Regions from separate parts of the Homo sapiens genome. Here region 1 is linked to region 2. Evidence: promoter capture Hi-C in human tissues and cell types (Jung and others, 2019). All regions are on one chromosome and are shown on one strand. The core of a region is centred on a gene start or on the middle of the fragment in contact, and the rest is flanking DNA. Distances in the headings are between cores, read along the strand shown.

Region 1 (2,954 bases), core at 161-2,660, 480 kb before region 2:
AAGCGGCCTAGAGACAGTGAGAGAACAATGAGGGTTGTTGCAGACTAAAGCCGGGCCCTGGGCAATGTTTGGCCTCTGCCTGGGCCTCGGGCCCCACCCCCCATGTCCCCGGGCCCCACCCCCCAGGTCCCCGGGCCCCACCCCCCAGGTCCCCTTCCAGAACTTCACCAGTCTTGCCGGCCTCTCAGAGAGTCAGCCAACCCCTGAGGCCTTTCGGGGACTGATAACGCTCACCTTTGGCTCAGACTGAATCCAAACACTTCACCTCTTTTTCTTCACAGAGCCCCATCCTCCAAAGGACCCTGTTCCAGCTTGTGACAAACCCAGAGGCAATCCTGGTCATCCGGAGGAGGAGGTGTCTGTGCCGTTGCTTGGAGCTGACTGTAGGCCTAGAGGCACAGGATTATACAGGATTGTAAGAGAATTGTATTTTTCTTCCTTGCATTTTTCGGTGTTTTCTAAATTTTTTCAATGAGTATCCTTTTGAGAATCATTAAAAAAGAATACATTTTACTTGACAAGGTATATAAATACATGGGTTAAGATATTAAAATAGAAAGAGTAAGGATTGCTTGCACGTTACAGAGTCTGGGATTTGGAGCTCAGTGCCTGGCACTGAGGGGATCAAAGTGCCAGGTGCTCAAAGTGTTCGTTGAATGAGAGGCGGGGGTGGGGGTAATGGGTGGTGAGACTGCTACCCTGTCCCTCCTCCCTCACCACATCAATGTCTGTGAAGCATTTCTAGAGGATCTACTGTGCAATGGAACCCTGGGAGCCAGGGGTGACTGGGGAGGCAGCAGGTGCAGGTGCTGGTAATGCCGTGCCATTGGGAGCCCCACTGGGGGTCCTCCATGAATCACAGGGGACCCATACCCAGGATACTGAGGAAGCTTCCAGAAAAAAAGAGTGATGCTGGCCCTGGATTGTGAGGATGGGCAGGGGTTTTTTGGAGTGGGAGAAGGGTACAGGTGTTCCAGGTCATCAGTCCAAGTTCCTTCACTCCTTCATTATTTACTTGCTCAGTCATTTCACAAACAACCTTTTTTAAAATAATTAGACAGGGGTCTCACTATGTTGCACAGGCTGGTCTCTCACTCCTGGGCTCTGGCGGTCCTCCCGCCTTGGCCTCTGAAAGCGCTGGGATTGCAGGTGTGAGCCACCATGCCCAGCCTCACAAACATTTATCTGCAGTCCAAACTGGATCCAAACTCTCCTCACCGCACCTCTGTTTCTGGAGAATGCTTCCAGGGCGCCTAGAATATACCAGGTCCTGACCTAGTGACTAGAGATACAGCTGCCACTCATAAATAAACATATGCTAGCATGGCAAGAAGAAAAGATGGCAGGATGGCAGAGAGAAAGCTGCTAGGGAGCAGATGCAGAATGAATATCTGGAGCAGGAGCAAAGGGCAAGAGCCTCCAGACTGGGGGGAAACGACCTGGGCATGCTCAAAGGCAAAAGAGGCCACTGGAGATGTGTGAACAGCAAATGGTGTGATCTGATTGGGATCGTAAAGGATCACTTCCACACAACAGTGATCACACTTTGTCCACAGGCACCCTTTAAAAAACCCCTTTCAAATTTTTTTTTTTTTTTTTTGAGATGGACTCTCACTCTGTCACCCAGGCTGGAGTGCAATGGCACGACCTCGGCTCACTGCAACCTCCACTTCCCAGGTTCAAGCGATTCTCCTGCCTTAGCCTCCTGAGTAAGTGGGATTACAGGCACCTGCCACCATACCCGGCTAATCGTTATAGTTGCAGTAGAGACGGGGGTTTCACCATGTTGGCCAGGCTGGTCTCGAACTCCTGACCTCAGGTGATCCGCCCTCCTTGGCCTCCCAAAGTGCTGGGATTACAGGCATGAGCAAATGTGCCTGGCCCCTTTGAAATTTTTATCATTAGCCTAAACTTGCAAATGATGCATTTGGTGGTTTGCTGTAGACTGTATATCATCTTTAAATATTTTTTCCGCTCCCGCTCCCGCTCCCTCTCCCTCTCCCTCTCCCCACGGTCTCCCTCTCCCTTTCTTTCCACAGTCTCCCTCTGATGCCGAGCCGAAGCTGGATGGTACTGCTGCCATCTCGGCTCACTGCAACCTCCCTGCCTGATTCTCCTGCCTCAGCCTGCCGAGTGCCTGCGATTGCAGGCGCGCGCCGCCACGCCTGACTGGTTTTCGTATTTTTTTGGTGAAGACAGGGTTTCGCTGTGTTGGCCGGGCTGGTCTCCAGCTCCTAACCGCGAGTGATCCGCCAGCCTCGGCCTCCCGAGGTGCCGGGATTGCAGATGGAGTCTCGTTCACTCAGTGCTCAACGGTGCCCAGGCTGGAGTGCAGTGGCGTGATCTCGGCTTGCTACAACCTCCACCTCCCAGCCGCCTGCCTTGGCCTCCCAAAGTGCCGAGATTGCAGCCTCTGCCCGGCCGCCACCCCGTCTGGGAAGTGAGGAGCGTCTCTGCCTGGCCGCCCATCGTCGGGGATGTGAGGAGCCCCTCTGCCTGGCTGCCCAGTCTGGAAAGTGAGGAGCGTCTCTGCCTGGCCGCCATCCCATCTAGGAAGTGAGGAGCGCCTCTTCCCGGCCGCCATCACATCTGGGAAGTGAGGAGCGTCTCTGCCCGGCCGCCCATTGTCTGAGATGTGGGGAGCACCTCTGCCCTGACGCCCCGTCTGGGATGTGAGGAGCGTCTCTGCCCGGCCGCCCCGTCTGAGAAGTGAGGAGACCCTCTGCCTGGCAACCGCCCCGTCTGAGAAGTGAGGAGCCCCTCCGCCCAGCAGCCACCCCGTCTGGGAAGTGAGGAGCGTCTCCGCCCGGCAGCCACCTCGTCCGGGAGGGAGGTGGGGGGGTCAGCCCCCCGCCCGGCCAGCCGCCCCGTCTGGGAGGGAGGTGGGGGGGTCAGCCCCCCGCCCGGCCAGCCGCCCCGTCTGGGAGGGAGGTGGGGGGGTCAGCCCCCCGCCT
Region 2 (2,895 bases), core at 196-2,695:
AAGGCGAGGTCAATGTCAATGCCAGCTCTGGTCTGAGAGGGCAAAGGACGTAGAAAAAGAAGGCTCTGCTTTCTGAATTACTAGGGAGGATGGGGGAGTATTACTACCGAGGAAAGGCTAATTTCCTCCCAGTGGACCGCTGACAGCACTAGGGCTGGGGCTGGGGTCGCAGTGGGGCGGCGGCTGGCATCGGATCTCCGCTCACAGCACGGAGGCAGCCTCTCTAGGTGCCCGCTCCGAGAAAGCCAGGCAGAGTCCCCGCCGGCTGGCGCCGTCACTGCCTTGGAACACGCGGGCTCTGCTCGAGTCCTGGGCTGACCTACGGTGGAGATGAGGGGCAGTGCTCCCGGGTGCCAGCTCCTGGGGGCAGCCAGCACCGCTCGTAGCGGACCAGTTCCAGGGCCAGGAAGGCGAAGCGAGAGCCGCAAAAGGCTCCCGGCTCCTCGAGGGGCGCGTCTTCCCATAGCTGGACCGAATTTGGGAGGATGTGTAAGTCCCCTGGGGTCTCCCGCGGGCACAGGGACTTGATGAGGGGAGGGGAGAACTACGTGCCTTTAGTTCCCCTCAGCGCCTCTGCCCAGCCCGCAGTAGGGGTGCGCCCCACCCCATCCCCACTGTCCAAATGGGGACCCAGGGCTCAGAAGGGGAGGGGATTGGATCCCAACGCGCTCCACTCTCGAAAATCTCTCCACCCCAGACCTGGACCCTCTCCGTAGCGCCGAGAGCAAAGCCCCCAAATGTTCGCGGTCCCAGGACCGGGGATGGGGGATGGGATGCCTGTCCTCCCAAGGCCAACGCGAATGGAATTCGAGTTCCCAGGAATCAAAGTTGCCGCGCGTCGGGGAGCTCGGAGCGGGGCGCGAGGCTAGGGCCAGGGGCCTGGGACCGAAGGATGCCGCGAGCGCCCGCCACGGGCGATGGCCGCGCTGGGAACAAGTGGTTCGGCAGCCGCGGTCACCACCAACTTCCCCGCCGCGCGGCGGGCGAACGGCGAGGGGAAGGAGAGGGAAGCGAGGAGGGAAGAGGCGGTGCGTGGCTCCGGGTACCGTGTGCGTGTGTGCAGCGGCGCCGCGCCTCGCCTCGCCTCGGGCTCTGCTCTCCGCCGGATCGGCCCCCGCGGGCCGCCTGCTCTGGCCCTGGCCACCGCCGCGTCTTCCCGCCGGCGCGAAGGCTCATCCGCGGCGTGCCGGCAGCTCCTGGGTCTCCGCGGGCCGCTCGCCGCTCGCCGCTCGCCGCTCGCAACTTCAGGCGCGCCGGGGGCTCGGACTGGGCGCGCCCCAAACGTCCAGAGGCTCTGCCACCCCGCGCTCCATGCCCAGGCCGGGCTGACTAGCCCCGACCACCTCAGCGTCCGGCCGCCGTCGGACGCGTCCTCTAGCCAAGCATCGCGCCTGCAGCCCGCGTCCCTCTCTCCCGAGCCGCCGCCGCCGCTCAAGTCCGCGATCAACTTTCCCTTGCTTCCCCCGCCCCGCTCGGCCCCCGCCCCGCTCGGCCCCCGCCGTCCAGACCCCGCCTCCCGCAGCTCCCTCCCTCACCTCCCGCCTCGCCCGGCCCCCGCCCGCCCGCCCGCGCTCGGCGCTCCCCCACCCCTCAGGCCGCCAGGACCCCCGAGCTCCCGCCCGGCCCCGCCCGGACCCCCGGGAGCGGCGCCGAGCCCCGCCGGGCGCTCAGGGCATGAATATTTCAGTGCTGGCGAAGCTGCCCTCTGCCGATGTCATGGCACCGGCTGCTGTGGCAACTCTACGAATCCCCCAAAGGGGCAGGGAGGAAGCCCGCGGAAGAGGCCCCAGGTGCGAGACAGAGCAGTGCCCCGCCAGGCCGCCAGCCGTCCCGCAGAGGGGCGCGCAGGGGGATGGGGCCCCCAGCGTCTCGTCCGCCCCGCGCCTCAGGCAGAGCGAGGTAACGCTCCCGGGAAGCCCGGGCGGGCGAGCGGGCGCTCGGCCTAGGTGAGCCCGCGCCATCTGTTGGCTTTAAGCGCCCCCTCTCTGCTCCCAGAGTCGCTGAGCAGTCCCTCTAGTCCTTGGGGCCTCTTGGCCTACGCTTCTCTCCAACCAGCTGCCTTTGCCCACCCGACTCGTGCGCTCCCATCTGCGCCTCCTCCCTCACTAGAGCTCAAGAGGCCTCCAAGTGCTTAGAAATGGAGGACCCCGGGTTGGAGGAGACCCGTGAGGTCACTTAGGCGCCCTCACCCCTGCGGGAGCTCCGTCTGCAGTGCCCGAGTCATGGTCTCCCGGCTCCTTTTTGCACACCTATAGGGACAGAGACTTTATGGCTTTCTGAGACAGCTGGATCAAGAAAGGGTCCATATGCAGGTAATGGAAGAGGTTTATCCCCTACCTTTGATCTTTACTTCCCCGGGGCTAAGCATTCTGATTTTTTAAAACTATTTCTCACATGACAGGATTTCCGAGCTGTCACTGTTCCAGTCAGTACATTGACAGTACCTGCCTGGAGCCAGGCTCTGGGCTGAGACTTTCTGGGCCTCAACTCATTCTATCTTCAATAAAGTCTTTCTGGTGGGCCCTGCCATTATCCCAGTTTTACAGTGAGAAACAGGCTTTAGGAGGTTGGGGACTTGCCCCTGTGGTGGAGTCGGGTATTGAACCCAGAATCTATCTGGTTCCAAAGCTCCAGTTCCTTACCATTCGCTCATTCATTATTCATTCATTCATTCACAGTCACTGCTATGTGCTAGCTAACTGAAATAGTTTCTAGGAATAGGATGGAGAACAAAACAGGCTTGGTCTTTGTGCCCCATGAAGCTTCTCTAGTAGGGGAACCAGACATTCATCAATGAAACACATAAGCAGGTAAAATTACAGCCAGAATCAGTGCTAGGAAGAAGAGTGCTTTAATGGCGCCTGGCCGAGGGGATCAGGGAAGACCTCCTAGAGG

The links. Contacts are between HindIII fragments. The study calls those that stand out against the background at their distance.
Region 1: a contact is called between a fragment that was not itself captured here and the fragment with the promoter of CDH23 in region 2, in 1 of the 25 tissues and cell types used here (spleen).

Annotation. Positions count from the first base shown.
Region 1 is chr10:71,875,766-71,878,719 of GRCh38, reverse strand. LINC03139 (long intergenic non-protein coding RNA 3139) reads right to left here and starts at 633. Exons shown (of 2, transcript XR_007062186.1): 1 at 235-633; 2 at 1-7. RefSeq lists an enhancer at 1,843-2,723. The HindIII fragment of the contact is 7,970 bases long and covers 1-2,954 here.
Region 2 is chr10:71,395,470-71,398,364 of GRCh38, reverse strand. CDH23 (cadherin related 23) reads right to left here and starts at 1,445. Exons shown (of 70, transcript NM_022124.6): 1 at 1,047-1,445. RefSeq lists an enhancer at 642-1,153 and a silencer at 1,837-1,926. The HindIII fragment of the contact is 12,378 bases long and covers 1-2,895 here.